3 separate regions of the Homo sapiens genome follow, and regions 1 and 3 are each linked to region 2. The links are contacts of gene promoters, found by promoter capture Hi-C in human tissues and cell types (Jung and others, 2019). All regions are on one chromosome and are shown on one strand. The core of a region is centred on a gene start or on the middle of the fragment in contact, and the rest is flanking DNA. Distances in the headings are between cores, read along the strand shown. Region 1 overlaps XPO7 (exportin 7). Region 2 holds the start of NUDT18 (nudix hydrolase 18). Region 3 overlaps DOK2 (docking protein 2).

The links. Contacts are between HindIII fragments. The study calls those that stand out against the background at their distance.
Region 1: a contact is called between a fragment that was not itself captured here and the fragment with the promoter of NUDT18 in region 2, in 1 of the 25 tissues and cell types used here (spleen).
Region 3: a contact is called between a fragment that was not itself captured here and the fragment with the promoter of NUDT18 in region 2, in 1 of the 25 tissues and cell types used here (spleen).

Annotation. Positions count from the first base shown.
Region 1 is chr8:21,925,542-21,928,241 of GRCh38, forward strand. The region is part of intron 1 of XPO7 (exportin 7); the gene reads left to right. Among named protein-coding and RNA genes, the nearest start is that of XPO7, 7.2 kb to the left of the region's middle. The HindIII fragment of the contact is 4,845 bases long and covers 1-2,700 here.
Region 2 is chr8:22,108,016-22,110,715 of GRCh38, forward strand. It overlaps NUDT18 (nudix hydrolase 18), which reads right to left and starts at 1,404. Exons shown (of 3, transcript NM_024815.4): 1 at 1,124-1,404; 2 at 118-331. The coding sequence starts at 1,285. RefSeq lists an enhancer at 1-518 and a silencer at 978-1,757. The HindIII fragment of the contact is 26,002 bases long and covers 1-2,700 here.
Region 3 is chr8:21,907,286-21,909,985 of GRCh38, forward strand. It overlaps DOK2 (docking protein 2), which reads right to left. Exons shown (of 5, transcript NM_003974.4): 5 at 1,588-2,646. The coding sequence ends at 2,026. Among named protein-coding and RNA genes, the nearest start is that of DOK2, 5.1 kb to the right of the region's middle. The HindIII fragment of the contact is 7,625 bases long and covers 1-2,700 here.

The DNA.
Region 1 (2,700 bases), core at 148-2,647, 180 kb before region 2:
GTGGTTATTGTAAGACTTACTGGAGTGTGACTTGGTTGGTCATAGGGAAAGGGGGATACCAGTATTAACTGAGTGTCTGTTATATGCCAGGCACCATGCTAAGCCTTTTATAGTGTTATGCCATTTAATTGGGAAACTCGTTTGGTCTCTGAGCCTGGATTAAGTGATCTGTGAAGTCCCTTGTACTTCAAGCATTCTGGATGGGATTTCCAGTTGTCATCCTTGTATTCTCTCCCCAATATAGCACCGTGTTCTCAATTCATATGTACATGTTTGTAAAATTCCTTAAAATATTTATGCTCAAACCAACATTTCCATTTTATCTATCTTAAATATATCTTCCTCTTCTTTACGCCTAATTTCTTAAACTCCCAGAGTTTTTTTCTGTAAGATCTAGTCATCTGTAGCACTTCTCACAAATTGAGCTCTCTTATGCCCCAAACAGTAACGAAAGAGGTCTCTTAGTTGGACAATAAGCAGTGAAAGATATTTCTTATGGGACAAGAAATTAACATTATTAGTCAAATGTTGATGCCGGTAGGCTGAGAAATGATTCTCACTTAAAAGCCCCTGGGTTTTAAACCTCTCTTAGAAAAACATTAGTTAGATGAAAAAAAAAATCAAAATATTTTCCTCTGGAAAACAATGTTCCTCTGAAAACAAGCAGATTATTAAAATATCCCTTGTACTACTTCAGGAAATTGTAATCTTATAACTGTAGTGGCCTTTTAGCTTTTAAATATATGAACTTGAGTTGGACACATGCTGATCTCATTGGTACTTTGCATGATAAGAAATTATGATATTTACAATGTGCAGTCTCAGAAAGAACTGAGAGTTTTGCTAGACATTTGCCCTAAAGTTTGAGTCAATTTATGGTTTAAAGGGGTGTATTTAAGGCTAGAAAAGGGAAATGAAGGGTTTTCTTAGGATTTTTTCCAATTCTATTTAAAATTGTTTGCAAAGTTTTGAAAGCATATGTCATGAGTTTGGCAAAAATTATTTCAAAGCTTGTTTTTTTTTTAACCTCATTCACCTCTGCTAACTCCTGAACTTCAGTGCTTTACTTCTGTCTTCCAAAAAGACGTTGTCTAAAATTAGTCATGAAATTTAACTTAACTGTAAGAACTTGAAACATAAAGTTTGCTCTGAAAAAGATCTGGGAAACCTGATGTATATTTCACATATCAATACATCTGTTGATGTATTGATAAAATCTATACATCTCAGTTGAAAAAAAATCTAAATTTTGCCCAATATATAGCCACAAATTATTTAGAATGTAATGTTCGTGTTAGTAGGTGATATTTTTGTCTTCAGCTTGTCATTGACCCATCTAAGGATCCCTGCGAGGTCTTGTCAAAAACTAGCCTGGGGCATACCCAAGAATTTTAAAGATTAAATAAAACTTACTGGAAAATGTGACCTTGTTTTCCTTAGTCTTAATATTTTGAACTGATAATGTTCCAGAACTGAGCAACTTTCTTCAGGCCTTCATAAAACCAAATTAAATTGTTTTTAGGTGAATTGAACCTGAGCAACAGGGAGTATTTAAGGACAGGCCAGGCAGGGGCACACATGCTTGTAGTCCCAGCTACTGGGGGGGAGGCTAAGCTGGGAGGATCACTTGGGTACAGGAGTTCAAGTCCAGCCTGGGTAACATAGCAAGACCCCAAGTCTTTTAAAAAAAATTAATTAATTAATTTAAATTAAATTCAAATAAAATAAGGACATTATCCCACAGGTGTTACAAATGAAAATTTGTTGTAATGTAAAGGATTATTTACTAGTTCTTGGAATTCTACAGTTAGCCACACTCCATACAGGGAGAGCAGAATGTTGTGAGCAAGAAGTTTTAATTTCACAGAATTCCTAAAACCTGTCCATTCAGAGCTGTTTGGTTTAGGTTACTGTTAATGTACCCTAGAGGTTCCCAAAGGCACATTTCGTGTTAACATTGATAGCATTGATAGGGTGAGACTTAAAAAAAACCAACCTTTTTTTTTTTTTTTTTTTTTCTTAAGATGGAGTTTTGCTCTTGTTGCCCAGGCTGGAGTGCAGTGGCGCAATCTCGGCTCACGGCAACCTCTGCCTCCCGGGTTCAAGCAGTTCTCCTGCCTCAGCCTCCCAAGTAGCTGGGATTACAGGCATGCACCACCACGCCCAGCTAATTTTGTATTTTTAGTAGAGACGGAGTTTCTCCATGTTGGTCCGACTGGTCTTGAGCTCCCGACCTCAGGTGATCCTCCTGTCTCGGCCTCCCAAAGTGCTGGGATTACAGGCGTGAGCCACCGCACCTGGCTGACCCAACTTCTTATCTATTCCTCCCATACCCGTCCCCTCAAATGTAAACAGCACTCACAAAAGTGGATATTTGGTTCATAGAGATTACTGTTGTGTAAATCTGTTGCCAGTGGAATAAAATCTTTCCTTTTTACTAAAATTTTATTCGTACAGTAAACTGCATCCATTTAAAGTGTACAAATTGACAGATACATACACCTGTGACTCCGGGATCAAAATATGGAACATTTCCTCTTTGCAGTCTGTTCCTCCCTCAGCTCTCAGACCCACACAACCCTGTTCTGCTTTCTGTCACTATAAATTAGTTTGCATTTTCTGGAATTTTATATAATGGACTTACTGTATACTCTTGTTTTCTGACTTCTTTCACTCAGCATAGTAACTCTGAGATTGATT
Region 2 (2,700 bases), core at 154-2,653:
CCCATGCCAGGCTGTGCCAGCCATAACAGGACTGGCTGTAGAGGGGCTCACCTCACCGAGGAGCTGGGGGAAAGGTGTCAACTGGCCCTGTTCACACTGCCTCCAGGTGGGCCATACCTGTGGGGCGAGCGAGGAACACGAAGCGGACCCAGGAGGGGCCCCGCTCCTCCACGGACAGCAGTGTCTCGGGCTCACAGTGCAGCCCCGCCTCCTCCTTCACCTCCCGCTGCAGCGCCTCCACGATGGTCTCCCCTGGCTCCATTCTCCCCGCAGGCAGGTACCACGACCCCCGGCACTCCCTCTTGGCCTCCTGGATCAGTAGCACCTCATCCTGAGAGGAGAGAGGATCCTCACTTCCTGCCACAGCCTTCCCTCGCCCCGGGACCAGGGGGCATCTCAAACACAGTCGCCCAAGACTCCCCTCTGGGTGGACACTCTCAACCCAGCTAGCGCTCCAGGAGACCTGCCCTCGTGTCGCTGGGGGCTGCAGCCCTCTCCTCTCTGCAATTCGTCTCTCTCTGGATTTAGGAAGACTTCCATTTCAGGAAGGGCTGAGATTCCTGGAAGCCGCTTCAGGGGCTGGAGATGAGGCCCCAGAGTGAGGGTCACCATGTGTCTGTCTGTCTTGGATTGATTTGCGTCTGTACCTGCCACTGTGTATCTCTCGCCTCCAACGGCGTGGTTTACAAACTGTGATGGGTCCTCACACTGGGGTCTGGCTTGAAACACGACCCCCACCTCCGCTCTGTACAACCCCGCCCTATGGCCCTGGCCCCGTCTAGTTGTCATTACATCGCCCACTACAGGCATCAGCACCAAAGGCCTGAAGGTAAGCCGGGATTGAGCCACTGCTATCTGAGGGGCCCTGGGCACTCCGCTAGACTCTGGGGAAGGGAAGGAATGAGGCCTAGTCGGATGAGACAAACAGGCCCCGGGCCTCAGTTTCCTCTTCTGCATATCGGGACGAACGCAGGACACAGATGCGAGTGGGAGTGGGAGTGCTTTGCAAAACTGGGAAGCGCCACGCACGCGGCAGCGCTGGCTGTGGCCGTTGGGTCTTCTGTCCCCACCTGGGCTGGCTGCGCGCTCCCGAGGCCCGGCGGGCCCGGGGGCGGCCGCTCACCTGCTCGCTGAGGAACACGGCCAGCACCACGTAGCACACGTTCTTCCGCAGCCGCACGGGCGCCGGCGGCTCCCCGGCCGGCGCCGAGTCGCAGCTGTGCACGCTGGACCCCTGGCCAGCCAGCACGGAAGCCAGCGCCCCCGCCAGGCCCTCCGAGGCCATCGGGTCCCCCGGGGGGCGGCGGGCCGGATCCTCGCAGACCGACTGAGCCGAGCCGCGGGCTAGAGTGCGCTGCGGAGCCCGCTCCCAGTCCCTGCGGCAGCGGGCCGGGAGCTCACGAGAACGCGGAAGCGCACGCGAACGCGGAAGCGCACGCGAGCTCTGGCCGCTGATAGGCTGCGCGGCGCCGCGGCCTGCCCGGATTGGCCGGCCCGCGGCATTCACCGAGGGGGCGGGGCCGCCCGGGGCCGCCCTGGAACTGGGGGGGCACGGGTCCGGAGCCCAGCGGACCCCGCCCGGCTTCTGCCGCCTGTCAGTCCCGTGCGCTCGGGACGTCTCCCAGCCGCCACCCGCTCGCCAACTCCCCGAGCGCGCACTGGTCTGCAGGAGCTCCGACGGTGACGTCATCTTTCCTGCAGGGCGCGTTGCGCCGCCGGGGTAGGCGACGGTGACGCGACAATCCGGTGACGTCACGGAGGCCCGGGGCCGCCCCCTGGAACCACTGTCCCGCTGTTGCCGTAAACACACAATGGCATTGCCGGAGTTGATCATATCCCAAATACCTTTCTTCTCATTCCACCAAAGAGTTATAAATGTCACATGGCCCGTGGGGTGGGGGACATAAACCCCTGCCTTGAAGGAGATTCTGCAATAGTTGGAGAGATGGACGGAGTCCTAGATGAGGAGTCAGCTGAGGGTTCGAGGCTAAGTGCTAAATGCTTGGTTTGGGCAGGAAGAGTGACAGGCGCTGGAAGGAGGGAGGGGGCAGGGCTGGGGATGGCGGGAGGGGTCCGGGGCTGAGAGAAGGCTGCCGTCAGCCGGCCCACCCTCATCAGTGTCCCTCTGCCTACCGCATTTCCCACGCAGCTCAAGGCCCTCTCTGCTGCAGATGGTGCGCCCTGGGAGGGCGGGGGTGGGGCCCTGCTCCTCCATCCTTGTCGTCACCCTCCCACCCAGCGTGCAGGACCTGGCGCGTGGAGAGCAGGGTGGGGGTGGTTGTGGCGAGCGCCTGCTCCTCTCCCAGCTCGGCCTTTCCTCCTTCACCCCACCTCAGCACTGGAAGGCAAAGCCAGCTGGAAGGGATCTGCGAAGCAGGCCGTCTGGCTCCTCACCTGGCAGAGGCCACCCCTTTCCTCTGCCTCTGATAGTTTTGTGCGCCTCCCTGCTAGGGAGACTGTGGCTTGGTGGTGTGGACAAAGCTCAGGACCTGCAGCCAGATGGCCAGCCACTGCTGACTGGCTTGCTCTGTGCTCCTGGGTGAGCTGTGGGCCTCAATTTTCTTATTTGTAGAGCAGGATCATAGCAATTCTTCTTTTACAGGGGTGTTGGGAAGCCACAACAATTGGAGAGGAGCTGTGTGGATTGTCCAGCACTGGGCACCGTCCCCAGGCAGCCCACCAACCCTCAGGGGTGGTCCC
Region 3 (2,700 bases), core at 201-2,700, 200 kb before region 2:
CCGCCACACCTGGCTAAGTTTGTTTGTTGGTTTGTTTGTTTTTATAGAGACGCGGTCTCATCACTATGTTGCCCAGGTTGGTTTCGAATTCCTGGGCTCAAGTGATCCTCCCACTTTGGCCTCCCAAGTTGCTGGGATCACAGGTGTGAGCCACGGTGCCCAGATGAATTTCCCCTTTTCTTTTTCTTTTTCTTTTTCTTTTTTTTTTTTTTTTGAGACGGAGTCCTGCTCTGTCACCCAGTAGGGTGCAGTGGTGCAATCTCAGCTCACTGCAAGCAATTCTCCTGCCTCAGCCTCCCAAGTAGCTGGGATTACATGTGCCCACCACCATGCCCAGCTAATTTTTGTATTTTTAGTACAGATGGGGTTTCACCATCTTGGACAGGCTGGTGTTGAACTCCCGACCTCATGATCAACCCTCCTCGGCCTCCCAAAGTGCTGGGATTGCAGGTGTAAGCCACCGTGCCTGGCAGAATTTCCCCTTTTCAATTCAGCCCCAACCTACCCCCTCCCACCCCAAGTCCACCTTCCACAGGGCTATCGGGTTATTGCCCTAAAGCTCAGCTTTTATGGGACTCCCTGTTCAAAAGCCTTTAGTCGTTCCACCTTTCCCTCTAATTAGGTACAAATTCCCCTTAATACAGTCAGAATCTGCCTTCCCAACTAGATTGTGTCACCTTACCCGCACTCTGAGCGTAGAACTCCGTCCCGAAAGCAACACATCCGTACCTCCCCGTGGTTTCACCTACACTCCCATTCCTATCCAAGATGCTCCTTCACACCCCCTTTATCTCCATGGAACTCCTTCCCACCCGTAAATGCCCACCTTAAATGGTACCTTTGATATGAAGCCTTTCTTGCGCTCCCAACAAATAGTTACCTCTCTGGCACTCATGGCCCTGTCTGGTCCCTTGTGGCACTCACACCCACTCTGTGACAGACACCTGTGCCTTGTTTCATCTCATCCCCTTCTGGGCAGTGTGTCTCTCACAGGCCATGCAGTCTACAGCCTCCCACAAACAGTGCCCATGCTGTCGGCGGACTGGGTTGATAGCTGAAGTCCATGGACACACCCTACTGGGAAAGCAGGTTTTGATAAGAGGAGCAAGCACAAGGACACAGGCTGACCTGTGGGGAAATGGTGTGTGGGGACCTAGGAACCCAGAGCCAATGGGAATCACAGAGCTGGATGGCTCCTCCTTGCCCACATGGGGCAACCCCCTCATTTTATGAAGATGTGCAGAAATCTCAGGGAAGCGAAAGGGCCCAGGACCACACACCTGGTGACTCCCACTCCTGGTGTACAAGAGGCTCCATCAATCCAATTATTTCCTTCCTTGCACTTTGGCTCGCCCCCCGCTCCCCCGTGCTTCCCCCACCATTTTTCTGACATTGACCTTCTCCCAGCAAAAGGGAGACATACTTGAACACTATTCCCAGGGCACCCTGACTGACTTCTAGAGGCCTCTGTGAGCAGATGCTTGGGGCTCAGCCTAGGCCCCAGGGGGATCTTGCAGCTGGGAGAGGATGTGATCAAGGTTGGTCAGTTGGAGACTTCACTCCCACAGCATTCATGCCACACAGAAATGTTCTGAAAATGCTTTAATGCCACCAAGAAATCTGAAAGGTGCAGGAAGCTGCCGCCATCCCCCTGGGTGCCTGGGCCCAGGCTGTCCCTGAAGTGGCCATCAGCAGGCAGGAGGCTTGCATAGCCAAGCAGCCCAAGCAATTGCTGACATCCTTTTGTCCTCTGCCCTAAATGCCCCAGGTTCCTCCTCAGCTGGGGAAAGAAAGAGGAGGAAGTGGAAAAAGAGTAGGAGGAGGGTGGTTCTCTCCAGGGCACCCTTCCTGCTTTGGGATGGTGACTCACCCAGCAGGCCCTGGGAGAGGCAATTTATCAGCCCCAACGAAGACAGGCCAGGCCTCGGGCTCCAGAAGGGGCAGAGGAGGTTCTTCTGATGCAGTGGCCAGGAGGAGTCACCAGCAGAAGCCAAGGGGCGGTGGACCATCCCTCTGCTGCCTCTGTCACTTTGGGCCTTTCTTTAGTACAACATTGTCATACTCAGTTCCTGGCTGCCAGCCAGAAGCAGAGAAATCCTGCCCGGCTGGCTGGACATGCTGGAGGCCAGCAGGGTCCCTGTCAGCTGTCGCCTGCCTCCTCCATGCCTCACCCCGGGGCTCCTGCGGGCTGTCATAGAGGGACAGGGCAGCCACTCCCTCGGGCTCATCGTATATGTGGTCAGGTCGAGGGGGCAGGGTCTCCTCAATGCTGTCGTACAGAGGGTCGGCCAGGAGCTGAGGAGGGACTGCCAAGATGCCCCTGAAGTTCTTCCCCAAGGAACGGGCCACCGCATCGAAGGGCACGGCATACTCCCCCTCCTGGCCCCGAGGCCGTGGAGCAGGCACCGGTGTGGTGGGTGAAGGCGGCGGCAGTGAGTCATGCGGCCGAGAGTAGGGGCTATCAGGCCGGGGCAGCGACGCGGGGATTGTGGCTGGCTGCGGTTGGGGTGTAGCGGGTGCAGCATTCTTCTGGGCAGAGATGGCCTCTTCCAGGGCCAAGAAGATCTCATTGCCTTGCCGGGTTTCGAACTCAAAGTTGCCCTCTCCAGAGACGCAGCGACGGCCTGCCTCAAAGGAAAAGGTTACCTGGACCAGGGAGAAAGCAGGTTATTGGCCAGGCCACAGGGCAGGGGTGCATTT